Linked DNA regions of Homo sapiens: all the other regions are linked to region 2. Evidence: promoter capture Hi-C in human tissues and cell types (Jung and others, 2019). All regions are on one chromosome and are shown on one strand. The core of a region is centred on a gene start or on the middle of the fragment in contact, and the rest is flanking DNA. Distances in the headings are between cores, read along the strand shown.

Region 1 (4,456 bases), core at 553-3,052, 120 kb after region 2:
TAACAACATAGGTAAATATTAAAAAATAGTATAAATGTATTTTTTTGTTTGTAACGTTTTTCTCCTATATGATTTAAAAGACAACTGAATAAAGCAATAATTTTAAATCTGTGCTGATGGACACTCAATGTATAGAGATGTAATTTGTATGAAAATAATAGCACAAAGAAGGGGAAGGGGATGGAGATATGCAGGAATAAAGTTCTTGTATGCCATTGTAGTCGTACTAATATAAACTAGATTGTTATAAGTTAAAATGTTAATTACAATCCCTAGAGCAATCACTAAGAAAATAAATCAAGTAAGTTTAAAAAATGACAAGACAATGAAACGATACACTGGAAAAAATATATTTAACACAAAATAAGGAAGTAATAGAGGAATAGAAGAACAAAAAAGTCATAGGACATATATAAAACAAATAGCAAAATGATAGATTTAAATACCACCTTATCGGTAATTACATTAAATGTAAGTGGATTGAGCACTCCAATTAAAAGACAGAGATTGGGAGAACCATTTATTTAAAAAAAAGATCCAACTATATACCGTCTATAAGAGACAAACTTTAGATTTAAACATACAAATAGATTGATAATATAATAAAGGATGGAAAAATACATACCATACCAACATTAACCAGAAGAGAACTAGAGTAGCTATCCTAATATTAGACAAAATAGACTATAAGACAAAAAAAGTGTGTGTGTGTATATATATATATATATATATATATATGTATATATATATATATATATATATATGAATCATACAAGGTATCTCTTCTCCAACCACAATGAAATGAAATTATGAATCAATAACAGGAGGAAATTAGGAAAATTCGCTATGAAATTTCAACAACACAGTCCTAAATAACCAATGGGTCAAAGAAGAACTCAAAAGAAAAATTAGAAAATACTTTGAGATGAAGTAAAATAAAAACACAGCATACCAAACTTAGCTAAAACAGTGCTAAGAGGGAAATTTATAGCTGTCAATGCATGTTTTTAAAAAGAATGACCTCAAATCAAGAACCTAAACTTCCACCTTAGGAAACTAGAAAAAAAATTAAACTAAACCTCCAAAAAAGCAGAAAGAAAAAAATAATAAAAATTAAGTTGGAAATAAATGTGATAAAGAATAGAAAAACAACAAAGAAAAATCAACAAAACCAAAAGTTGTTTCTTTAAAGGATCAACAAAATTGACAATTCTTTAGCAGACTGACCAAGAAAAGAAAGGATTCAATTATTAAAATCAGAAATAAAAAAGAAGAAAATGTTACTGATCTTATAGAAACAAAAAGGAATATAAGGGAATACTATGAACAAATTAAATAACCTACATGAAAAGGATAAATTTTTAGAAAGACACAAACTACTGAAACTAAATTTAAAAATGGAATGTCTGAATAGACCTATAACAAACAAAGGGATCAAATTAGAAATAAAAAACTTTCCACAAAGAAAAGCCTAGGACCAGATGGCTTCACTGGTGAACTCTACCAAATGTTTGAAGAAGAATTTATACAAATCCTTTACAAACTCTTCCAAAAAACAGAAGATGAAATGTTACCATGCATTCTATGAAGCCAGTATTATCTTGATACTGAGACACCGACAAAGAAATCACACAAAAAGAAAAATACAGAACAATATCCCTTATGAATATACATGTAAAAGTTCTTAACAAAATATTAGCAAACCAAATCCACTAACATTTAAAAAGGAGTATACACTATGACCAAATGGAATTTATCTTAGGAATACAAGGTTGGTTCAACATAAGAAAGTCAAACAATGTAACGCACTATATTAATAGAATAAAGGACAAAAGCCACATGGTCAATAAATACAGAAAAGCATTTTACAAGAAAGAATGAGATTAACAAAACTCTGATGCAGTGCTTCAATTTTACACTTACTGAAAGCTTTTTAAAAACATCTATTAGATTTATTTTGTCATAGATGTTTATCATATATTACTCTCATGAATATATAAGAGGAAAATATAAGTGAAATCAATGAATTCCTAAAACTTTTCACATTCAGAGTACAATTCTTCTGAAGAATTGGTCAATATATATGTATATTCATATATTCATATCAAAGTATGGAAGGAGTACTAAAAAATACTGCAGTCCTTATTTCTGCAATGGGTGACATAGTTATCGTCAGTGTTTTAAATTTCCTTCTTTCAACCACCTAGTTCATAGTCCCTTTGCACTCATCAAGCACTCAACTCGTTGTGGTTCCTTGCCTTCTGGATTGACCCTAGCTTTCATTCTGAAGGTCTGTGCCACTAGCAGCCTTGTCTCTATTGGGATGTGGTGGTTCTTCATTAACCTTTATTCCAGGACATGAGACTACTAAAAGTTACCCACAAAAGACTTCTTGTATTCCACACAAACTCCTCCCTGCCCTTATTATAGAAATCCAAATTCTGGACTGATTTCTGGATCAATCAACCTAAACAGTACAATAAATCCTTCATTGCCTATTAGTTCATTGGTGTGAAGAGCCCAGTGTGGCCAGCTGGCAAACTCAGCTTCCAATTTAATGAAACCACATCTATACCCACGAATGAGAGCATTCCTCCCTTTGGAACCAACACCTCTAAACCAGCAGAGCCCCAAGTGTCAGGGACATGAAACAAAAATTTTGCTAGTGAACCATTGGAGTAAAAGTGAAAAGGGCCACTCTCATTTCCACCCTTTGATTCCAGGACCTTGAATCCTGTTTATGGAACAAATGAGACCACATATTGGTCACAATGATTCAGAGCATATACCATATCTTAGAAGGTTCTGCCTTAGCCCTACAAGATGTTGCCACACACCTGGTGTCATAATTGAGTCTTCCAAAAGCCATGTCATTATTTTATCAGGCCAGCTGCCACAGAGTAATGGGGAACCTGATAAGCCCAGTGAATTCCATGAGCCAGGAGCCTTCTGCCACACTTACTCATTTTCTGTAAAGTGAGTTTTCTCTGGTTAGAAGTGATGTTGTGCAGAATGCGATGACTGTGGATAAGGCTGTTGCCATAGTTTGAATATGCTTTGTTTGTCCCCACAAAATCTCATGTTGATATTTGATCCCCAAAGTTGGAGATTGGGCCTAAATAGGAGATGTTCAGGTCATGGGGGTAGATCCCCCATGAATAGATTAATGCCCTCCTCAGGGGTTAGGAGCGAGTGAGTTCTCACTCTATTTGGTCCCATGAGAGCTGATCATTAAAAAGAGCCTGGAACTTCTCCTGCCCTCTTGCTTCCTCTCTCGCCATGCTCTCTGCACATATGGCTCCCTTTCACCTTCTGCCATGAGTAGAAGCAACCTGAAGCCCTCACCACAACAAGATGCTGGCACCATGCTTCCTGTACAGGCTGCAAAACCATGAGCCAAATAAACCTCTTTTCTTTGTAAATTACCCAGTCTCCGGGAGTATCCCTTTATAACAACACAAAACGGACTAAGACAGGTGTGGATGGTGATTTTGAAAGAAGCATTGTGAGCAGAGAAAGCAAATCCACATCCAGAGTATCTATTCCAGTGGCAACAAAGTGCTGCCCCCTTTATGCTGTAAGTAGCCTGTATAACCAAACTGCCACCACATGGGGGGAATGGGCCCCCCACTGGAGCCTCTGAGGAATGGGGCCATCTTGGGGGCTCAGTGTTGGTCTCTGCTGCTGGCAGGTCAGGCACACAGCAGTGACTGTGGCCAGATCAGCTTTGTTAAGTGTAAGTCCATGTTGCTAAGCCTATGAATAACCTCCATCCCTGCCTACATAGCCACTTAGTTCATCATCCCATACAGGAGTAACTGGGGAGAGAGGTTGACTGGAATCCAGAGAATGGGGCATCCTGTCCACCTGAGTATTATGATTCTTCTCTGCTAAAGTTGCTCTTTGACGAGCATTTGCATGGACACAAATATCTTCACACCATGTGACAATTTAGGTTCATTCACATATCTCTTCCCCAGATCTCTTTGTCACCAACTATGCAATCTTGTTCTTTCCAAGTCCCTGACCATCCAACCAAACCATTAGCCATCTCCTGCAATTAATTTTTATTAATCACCTCAGATCTATACCTCTTGCCAGCTCTCCTTCCAGGAGAAATGAACAATAAGGTGCACTGCTCAACTCTCCACTGGGAGGACTTCCCATTCCCACTGCTCTTCGGAACCACCCCAGAGTGTGGTTTAGTACTACAGTGGTCCACCTATAGATTGTTCCAGCCTGTCTTGCAGAACCATTTATTTTCCAGTCCAAATGTTTTCTTTCTCAGTTAACTGGTCACTGGGAAACTTCTCATGACTGCACAGGTACAGACTGAAAAGGAGGAGGCAAAGTAGGAGAACCAGGAGTCACTTGTGCCTTTCAGATCCACTCAAGCCCAACCTAGTACAAAACACCTCTGCTTGCTGAGGGATTGATGGGATATGATGGTGTGGAT
Region 2 (4,743 bases), core at 2,244-4,743:
GTGGGGGAGGGCAGCTCATAGAGCCGTGCTCGAGGGAGGCGGGTAGCGCAGAGGAGAGGGTGCAAGGCCCTAAGAAGAGGAGCGGGGGGACTAGGGCGGGGCTCAATGGAGCTGGGGCGTCCGCAGACTGGAAGGAGCCGGGACCCCCGCTCCAGAGCCTCCCTTTCCATTCTCGCTTCTTCCAGTGATTCCGAGCCCCCGACTCAGTCTTTCCCCCAGGTAGAGAGAATCCGAGGCTGTTTCTGCCGCTGAAATCTGAGCGGGAGAGCATCCCGAAGCCGCCTGCGTGGAGCGAGCAGCCCCCGCGTCATGGGCCAGAGGCGCCCGGGAGAATCTGCGGGTCACGGATCACACCCGCAGGGGCCTGGCGGAGCAAGGTGCCGTTCGCCGCCTGCGGGCAGGAGCCGGCTCTGGGCCTCGGCCCCTGCTGTGCCGTCCAGTCGGCCGCTTCTTCGCTTCTTCGGCAAGGGAAGCGGTGGAGAGGCGCGGGAGCCCCGATTGTGCTGGAGAGATCTGGGACCCCTGCGCGTCTGCGTGCGAAGGACCCGAGACCGGCCAACTCAGCTGGGAGCACGGGACACGAGGAGTGAGGACAAAGGGCAAGGAACGGGGCCTATAGGGAGGGTGTGTGTGTGTGTGTGTGTGTGTGTGTGTGTGTGTGTGTGTGTGTGTGTGTGTGTGTGTGTAGGGGGAATGAATGGACAGCGGGGAAGGCATGCAGAGGGGCCCAAGGGGTGTGGACTCAGCAGCCCCACCCCAGACCAGAGAAGGCAGCCAGGCTCTGGCGTCCACCGAGCCAGCGCCCCTATCTGGGCGCGGGCCGCATGGCGGCAGACCACCCTATATCCGCCTTGGTGGCGTGGGATATGACTGGCAGGAGCGCGGAAGAGGCGCTGAGAATGCATGCGCACCCGGACAGACCAGACGCGGCACGGAGGGGGTACTTCCCACAAGTCCTCCTGCCTTGAGACCAGGCCTTCGAGTGGTCCGGGGAATGCGCCTCTGGGCACAGCCAGCGGCCCCAGATCGGCACTGGACGCCAACCCGAGTTAGAGAAGCCTGGGAGACTGGATCGCAGGGGCCCTCATTCAGCCAAGGAGGGGGAAAGGAGAGCTGTAGGGTAGGAGAGGCCAGGCACAGGGAAGGTGGGGAGGGGATGGAGCCTTGCGCCAGGAGTTGGGGGTGCAGGGCCTGTGACGAGAGAGTATTACCATGTGCACCCTGAAGGAGAGGGAGAGGGTCTGGGCCTGGAACGAGGACTCTCGCCTGCAGGCAGTCGCCCAGCCCCGGTTGCAGGGATGGACCGCGACCAGCAGAGGGCAGAAAGTGCCTGGTCCGCCCGCCGGCCCCGAGCCGCGCTCCGCGCCTCGGGACTCTGGCTCTGTGCGCCGAAGCCTTGCCCGCCCGGCTTCTCCCTGCAGCAGCCGCGCCCCCGCCCCAGATGCCCGGAGAAGGCGGCTCAGGCCCAGCCCAACTTCGCGGGTCCAGGCCTGGGGTTTCCAGGTCAAGCAAAGAGGGGACCGAGATGTGGGAGAGAAACTCCACATTGACTGTCCACTCTCCCCGACCTAGCCACACAAAGGCGCCTAGAAATACACGAAGGCACAAAGCCCCCCACCACACACAAACACACACACACACACACACGCTAGGAGACACGCGAGCACACAGAAGCATTCAGAACCCCGGAGATAAGCACAGATACGCAAAGCTGACAGAGACACCCATACAGAAAAGGATCGCAGACACAACACAGAGGCTGAGACACGCACAAAGACTTAGGCCCCCGCATGAAATGATGCGGACACACACCCCAGACACAGGCACGAAGGACCCACACATTCACATACACACGGGTGCAGGGGACTCAGACACAGATCCACAGATTCACCCCTGGGAGTCTGGAAGGTTGCAGGGACACACATACCGTGTGTGCAGAGCCAAGGAGCACACGGAGGCAAGAGCCGCAGAGGCGGGGGCCCGACACGCACAGACACACACAGATACCCACCGACACACACGCAGGTAGGGTAGGGCGGGAGCCTCTAATCCTCCACAAAGCCGGGCCCCTCCGCGGGGCCCCGCGGCGCAGGGGGCCACTTCTGACCAAGCCTCCCGCAGGTTCCAAATCCGATCCGCCCTTTCGCCTCCAGCGAGGTCAGGGGACCCGCCCCCCATGCCCTCCGCCCCCGCCCGGCTCCGCGCCGCTGCCTCGCTCCGGGAGGGGCCGGGGCCGCCCCGCAGCGGATCGCGGGGGGTCAGCCCGCCGCTACCCCGGGCCGCAACCGCCCCCCTGCTCCCCGGTGAGCCGCGCGTCGGTGGGGACCACGGGCCGCAGACAGCCGGTCCGACGCTGTGGCCTCTCGCACCGGACGCGGGTGCCAGGCCCGGCTGGCGCGGAAGTCGGCAGCTCCATCTCGCCAGCTTTCGCGTCCCGTTGCCGAGGTCCACTTTGCCCAGGCTGGCTAGAGCACTGTCCTTGATCCGCGCGTCCCAGCGACCCCTGGCCGGGCACCCGACCCGCCAAAGGACCCCGATCTTGGCAGCCAACCTAATTTCTTCAGAGCCGCTACCCTGGGGCCACCACTCCCTCCTAGCGCCCCTCACTGCAAACCCTAGGAGGCCCGGGTCTTGCCCACTGCTCCTGCCCCTGCCCGGGGACCCCTTTTCCAGCCTTAGTTGTCCTCTAAACTCTCGGTCGCCTGAACCCAGGCCTGACCTTCCTTGTCGTCCCAGTGTCCCCCATTCTCGATCCCGGGGCCCCAACCTCCCATCGGCTCAGTCCCCCGCCCAATCTCTGCCAGGCCCGGAGCTTTCCCAGACCCCTCACCCACACTCCAGGCTCACTCCCCGTTCCTGGGCCTGGGCCCCCCTTGCACGAGTCCAGGGCCAGCCGTCCTCGCCTTCTGCCCGCCCCCGTCCTTCGTTCCTGGGAGCCGGCCCTCTCCGCGGACCAAGCGGCCCCGAGCAGGCGCCGCCGCCCGGGGGACTCCGACTCAGCCCCCGCGACCTACCTCGGCCGACAGTCGGGGGTTCCCAAGCGGCCACTCCCGGCCGGCGCCGTCCCCTGGCGGAGCCGCCGCGCTCCCTGCCGTCCGCGCAGTCTGGCCTCGCTCGGGGCCACTCCTCGTAGCGCTGGAGCTTTACAAAATATTAATAATAAAGAAGGCAGAGGAGAAAAAAGAAAGCCTTCGCTCCCCAACTCCCAAATCAATTTTTCAAGGGGGTGGAGCAGAGGGATTTGTTTCGAAGACGATCAAAACTTCTGCGAGGGGCCCGCGGGGCGGCCGGGCCGGGGAGCCGGGGCCTGAGCTCGGGGCCAGGCGCGGCGCGGGGCGCGGGCCAGGGGCGCGGAGCCCCGGGGCGCGCGGGGGGGCGGGACGGCACTATTTGACGTGGAGCCGGCGGCGCATCCCGGCGCAGGGATACCGGCCGCGGGGTTCAAATGTCAGGAAGTTTCGGGAGGTGAGGCGGCCCGTATCCCTCCGCCGCCAGCCCCAGCTCTAAACCCGGCGGCTCAGCGGGCGCACCATGGCACTGGAGTAGCGCGGGGAGCGCGCCCGGAGCCCCGCGGCCCGCTGCGCCCCGCCCGGGACCCCGCTGCGCCGCGCGCCCCCCCCGCGGCCCGCGGGGCCGCCCCTGCACCCCCACCCCCTCCCCCGCCTGCCGCCGCCGCCACCGCCACCGCCGCCGCCGCCTCCTCCCCGCGGCTCCGTCTGCAGCAGCCGCCGCCGCCGGGTTCCGGGACTGACAAGCAGGTGACAGAGGAGCCGGCGCGCGTGGCTGCAAGTGTCCGGGAGAGCGCGGCGCGGGCTGCAGCCGCCCCGGCCCGCCCGCACGACGCCGGGGCCCGGGGCCAGCGCGTCGCCGCTCCACGATCGCCGGGGGCCGGCGCAACCCCTGCCCTGCGGGGGCCGCGCCTCCCCGGTTCCAGGGCCGCGGCGGCGGAGAGCGGGTGGACGGGCCGGCGGGCGAGCAGCCCGGCCGGCGGGGTCCGCAGCGCGCCCCGCGTCCCATGGATATAGCAACAGGTCCCGAGTCGCTGGAGAGGTGCTTCCCTCGCGGGCAGACGGACTGCGCCAAGATGTTGGACGGCATCAAGATGGAGGAGCACGCCCTGCGCCCCGGGCCCGCCACTCTGGGGGTGCTGCTGGGTGAGTGCGGGGTCGGAACGCCCGAGTGGTCTCGGGCGTGGGATGGGGCGTCGTCCGGCTGTGGACACGGGCGTTGGGGCCAACGGATAAAGGAAATGGGTTTGCAGGACATGGGGAGGAGGCAGAGACAGGACTCCTGGAGTGATCGCCAGAGGGCCGCAAGTACGCCTCCGGCAGGCGTCCTGAGGGGACAGGACAGCTCCAGTCGCCACCCACCATCCTTTCCAGGCTTAGGTTCTAGAGCTGCCACTCCGATGTGGTAGGTGGCGGGTGGCAGGGGTGATGGAGGACCTAGCAATCACCTTGGCGAGCTTGGGAGAGGCGCAAGGTCACCTGGGGTGGGGGAGATTCTAAGAGAAAAACGTCTCCCTGGTCACTCAAACCACAGATTTTGGGGAGATCGGGGATAGAAGACCACGAACGCCACCGTGGGGCGTGTCAGCCAGCGAGCGCCCCAGCCTCACCTCGCCTGTCTTGGTCCCAGCCGGCCACCCTGCGCCGTGCTCGTTGTCATTTGTCTTAACACGGAGCGCGGATTCTCCGGAGAAGGGGAGAGCACAGCGCCGAGCCAAGGCTCGAGGCCCGCGGC
Region 3 (4,914 bases), core at 1,215-3,714, 76 kb before region 2:
CTCCCAAACCTACAAGGCCCAGTTCAAATGCATCCTCCTCCAGGAAGCCTTCCTTTTCTGCCTGAATTGGAATCCTTTGAATGTGTGTATGTCTTATTGTTTGCCTCTCCTTCCACTAGGCCATGAATACCTTGAGGGCAGGATCCGAATTTGTTATTAGTATTAAAATAACAATAACACAGCTGGGCACGGTGACTCACGCTGTAATCCCAGCACTTTGGGAGGCTGAGGCGGGCAGATCACTTGAGGTCAGAAGTTCGAGACCAGCCTAGCCAACATAGTGAAACCCCATCTGTACTAAAAATACAAAAATTAGCCAGGCGTGGTGGCAGACTCCTGTAATCCTAGCCATTCAGGAGCCTGAGGCAGGAGAATCGCTTGAACTAGGGAGGTGGAGGTTGCATTGAGCTGAGATTGCACCACTACACTCCAGCCTGGGGGACAGAGTGAGACTCCATCTCAAAAATGAATAAAATAAAAATAACAATAATACACTAGTGGTCAGGTCCCCACTTATGAAGCGGAGGTTGCAGTGAGCCGAGATTGCACCACTACACTCCAGCCTGGGTGACAGTGAGACTCCGTCTCAAAAATGAACAAAATAAAAATAACAATAATACACTAGCGGTCCCCACTTATGAAGCATTTACTATATGCCAGTTGCTTTATAAGCATTGGCTTATTAAACCGCCACAGCACCCGGAAGGGACGTTTTACTGTCCCCATTTCACAGGTGAGGAAACTGGTGCTCAGGGACAGAACATTACTTGCTCAAGGACACCTGTCTCTGCCACTTACCAGCCGGGTGACCTCCCTTCCCCTCCCTGATGACTGCGTCTGTATGTCTGTATTGTGAGATTGTAGCAGTGGGGTGTGGGCATCGGTCCATGTCAGTTTGCAAGAGCTGCTGGTTACATTTTCAAGAATTAATGTTACAAGCTGGTTGTTAAACACAGCCTTTGTTAAACATTTAAATTATGTAAACTTAAATAAATGATATTCAAATCAAAGGTAATAAACACTCCAAACTCATCCATTCCTATACGTTTACTTCATTTTCCTATCATCTATGCCCTTGAGCTCATGTCTACTGTATCTGTGTTGGAAATGCCACATCATGGCAGCTGTGGCACATCTGTGCCTAACTCCACGTGCAGTAACATCATGTTCACCACTTGAAATCAGCCATAGTAGGAGTATTTACACCATAGACATGGTCAAACTCCACAAATCAGGGCTTTTTTCCTCCAGAGAGCAGGTTGTGAGACATGTAGCAGCACATTACTGGGTTATAGAGAAACGCCAAGAAAGAACTCTGCCCACAGCTCTGAGCACAGTGCCAGGTACACACTAAGCACTCAATAAAAGTTTGTTTTGATGAAGATTATAAGAGTGATGATGACAACAATGCCAGTGACATCATGCTCCCCATATCCCCACCCCCAAACCACTCCTACCAGTCCAGGCCTCTATCCTGAGCTCCATGAGCCCCGTGGCCCAGCTTCCTAGACACCCAAAATAGAATCTCCCCCTTGAGGGCCCCTGGGTCAGAGAATGGCATCTTCATCCCCCACGGCCCCGCCAGCAGCCCAGGCAGCTGTCTTGCCTCCTCTGCCATTTCTTGTCTGCACTGGGGTCATTCTCTCTCACTGTTGCCCATCTCACTCCCCCCCTCCAGCCCGCCCTCCTCCAGACGGGCAATGCCACCATCCCCAAGCGTGAATCTGACCCTGTTACCCTTCCCTGGGTCCTGGTCACCTCTGGAAGTTCCGGGCTCCTCGGCCGTCATCTGAGGCTCTGCCCAGCCTCCTGCTGCTGCCTAGGAGTACACAGCCCCATCGCCTGCCCATCCCTCGGGTGCACCCTGCCCCAGCCACACCAAACTGCTCACATTGATGGATGGCATTCTTCCAGATGCTATTCCAGGTACTGGGGCTACAGGGTAGACAAGACAAAATCCTTGTTCTCTTGAAGTTTTCATTTTAGTAGGTTAAAACAAATTTTAATTTAAAAAGCAGCATGTGTGTGTGTGTGTATGTGTGTGTGTGCATTGTGTGTGTCTAATATCAGGTGGCATTGTTATTAGGTTGGTACAAAAGTAATGCGTTTTTTTGCCATTAAAAGTAATGTCAAAAAACTCAATTACTTTTGCACCAACCTAATAGCATGGAGAAAAATAAGCAGGATAAAGACCAAGACAGTCACCGTGGGAGTTGCTGTGTTATATGGGAGTCAAGAACAACCTTATTCATTGGTGACCTTTGGGCGGAGACCTGAAGAAAGAGATGGTGTGGCTCTCCAGGCAGAAGGAAGAGCCAGTGCAAAGGCCCCGAGCTGAGACTGTTTTTCTATCTAAGGAAGAGCAATGGCTGGAATGGAGTGACCAGGTAAATTCAGAGAAACACAGGGGCCAGATTGTGTAGGGTGTGATTGTTCATGCTTAGGACTTTGGAATTTATCTGGAGTGAGCTAAGAAGCCAGTAGTGGGTTTTCAGCAGGGGAGTGATGTGACAGACACATTTCAAAAGCTTCACTCTGGCTGCCGTGCTGATTTGGAAGTCTTGGGCAGACCCCGGGACACAGGCTAGGAGGTGGCTACAATTATCTTCCAATGAGAGATGACGATTCTTCTTTCTGGTCTTTGGCTCATGGTATCCCCTTATCCTAGAATGACCCCCCACTTCTCCTCATTATGTAAGACTAAATCCAGGTTCACCTCCTCCAGGAAGCCACCTCTGATCTCTCCTACCCAGGTTGGGTCAGGTGGCCTCCTGTGTGCTCCCATAGGCCCAGTCACGCCCCTCTCACTGAACTGAAAGGCCTGTTTACCCACCTGGTTCCCCAATAGCCAGAGAGCAACTTGAGGACAGAGGCTGGGAATCTCTGTCTCCAGGACCAGCACATGATCAGGCACAGAAGAGATGCTCAGAGAGGACAGGGGCGGTGGCTCATGCCTATAATCCCAGCACTTCGGGAGGCCAAGGCGGGTGGATCACTTGAAGTCAGGAGTTCAAGACCAGTCTGGCCAACTCGGTGAAACCCCATCTCTACTAAAAATAATAATGAAAAACATAGCTAGGCATGGTGGCATGCACCTGTAATCCCAGCTACTCGGGAGGCTGAGACACAAGAATTGCTTGAATCTGGGAGGCAGCAATTGCAGTGATCTGAGATCACAGCACTGCACTCCAGCCTGGGCAACAGAGTGAGACTCCATCTCAAAAACAACAACAACAACAACAAAAAAAAGAAACAAAAGGTGCTCAGTGAACATGTGTTGACATGAGCTAAAAGACACAGTGATATTATCAGAGTGAATGTCCTTCCACAAATACTTGTCAAAGGTAAGCTTCTACAGGGTGCCAGAGATTCCATCCCAAACAAAATAAACATGGTCCCTGCTCTTGTGACTCTCCCACTCTAGGGTTGGGGAACTTCCAGAAGCTAGGGGTGGCCAGGGTAGCAAAAGAGGGGTGAAGAATAGTAAGAGCTGAGGCAGAGTAAATCATGCTGTACCTTTAATGTCGTGGTAGAGAAGTTGCAATTTCTCCCGTGATCACTGAGAAACTGTTGAAAGCACGTGGCATAGTCAAATGTTTTTAAAAGATGACCCTAAAATGGCACCAGGCCCAGATGATTCTATCAGTTCTCTCAAAGAATAGTGTACATGTAATTTATACTTTTCCAAAGATGAGAAGTTTCACTTATAATTTTGTGAGTTTAGTACAAATCTAATCCCATAACCCAACAAAGACAGCTTTATAAACCCCATAGATGACTAATCTCATCTATAAACAGCGATGAGGAAACACAAAATCAAATGCTATCATAGAGAAAGTAGCAAAACATTAAAGATATTGACTGGGCACAGTGGCTCATGCCTATAATCCCAGCACTTTGAGAAGCTGAGGTGGACGGATTGCTCAAGCCCAGGAGTTCGAGACCAGCCTGGACTACATGGCAAAACCCTGTCTCTACAAAAAATACAAAAGTTAACCAGGCGTGGTAGCGTGCACCTGTAATCCCAGCTACTCCGGAGGCTAAGGTGGGAGGATTGCTTGAGCCCAGGAGGTCAAGGATGTAGTGAGCTGTGATCATGCCACTGCACTTCAGCCTGGATGACAGAGTGAGACCGCATCTCAAAAGAAAAAGAAAAAAAAACATTAAAAATCTAATACACCATTCTAGGAATACAGGTTCAGATGAGGAAAGTCTGTTTATATTATCTATCTCGCTTAATGCCCATTCTCAATCTAAATATTGTGCAGACTTTGTACTTAAGAGTGAACGCCAGCCGGGCATGGTGGCCACACCTGTAATCCCAGCACATTGGGAGGCCAAGACGGGCGGATCACTTGAGGTCAGGAGTTCGAGACCAGCCTGGCCAACACGGTGAAACCCCATCTCTACTAAAAATACACAAATTAGCTGGACATAGCGGTGCACACCTGTTGTCCCAGGTACTCAGGAGGCTGAGGCAGGAGAATCACTTGAACCCGGGTGGTGGAGGCTGCAGTGAGCTGAGATTGTGCCACTGCACTCCAGCCTGGGCAACAAGAGGGAGACTCTGTCTCAAAAAAAAAAAAAAAAAAGAGTGAACATCGTGGCAGGTATATGAACCAGACCTGGCTATGACGAGGATGCCTGTGTGACACAGCATTGCCCCGGGTATGCTGGATGCTAGCGCACTGTCCTCCTCCTTTTGTCTTCATGACACAAACATATTTACATATGGCAGTCCCCCTTTATCCTTGGAGGATAAAGTCCAAGCCCCCCAGTGGATGCCTGGAACCTCAGATAGTTCCAAACCCTAGTTGTACTATTTTTTTTTTCCTGTACATACGTACTTAGGATAAAGTTTAATTTACAAATCAAGCACAGTACACTTGCACTTGGGGGCCATTATTAAGTAAA

The links. The method cuts DNA at HindIII sites, captures the fragments that hold promoters and counts their contacts. A contact is called where the count stands out against the background at its distance.
Region 1: a contact is called between a fragment that was not itself captured here and the fragment with the promoter of LMX1B in region 2, in 2 of the 25 tissues and cell types used here (lymphoblastoid cells and mesendoderm cells).
Region 3: a contact is called between a fragment that was not itself captured here and the fragment with the promoter of LMX1B in region 2, in 2 of the 25 tissues and cell types used here (bladder and heart right ventricle).

Annotation. Positions count from the first base shown.
Region 1 is chr9:126,735,977-126,740,432 of GRCh38, forward strand. No RefSeq gene overlaps it. Among named protein-coding and RNA genes, the nearest start is that of ZBTB43, 67 kb to the right of the region's middle. The HindIII fragment of the contact is 4,205 bases long and covers 1-3,905 here.
Region 2 is chr9:126,610,435-126,615,177 of GRCh38, forward strand. LMX1B (LIM homeobox transcription factor 1 beta) reads left to right here and starts at 3,494. Exons shown (of 8, transcript NM_001174147.2): 1 at 3,494-4,154. The coding sequence starts at 4,016. It overlaps LMX1B-DT (LMX1B divergent transcript), which reads right to left and starts at 3,365. Exons shown (of 2, transcript NR_184148.1): 1 at 3,015-3,365. RefSeq lists enhancers at 1-478, 2,422-3,390, 3,646-4,227, 4,228-4,743 and a silencer at 1,200-1,269. The HindIII fragment of the contact is 15,813 bases long and covers 1-4,743 here.
Region 3 is chr9:126,535,508-126,540,421 of GRCh38, forward strand. No RefSeq gene overlaps it. Among named protein-coding and RNA genes, the nearest start is that of LMX1B-DT, 76 kb to the right of the region's middle. RefSeq lists enhancers at 1-340, 1,166-1,666, 1,667-2,167. The HindIII fragment of the contact is 4,997 bases long and covers 1-4,914 here.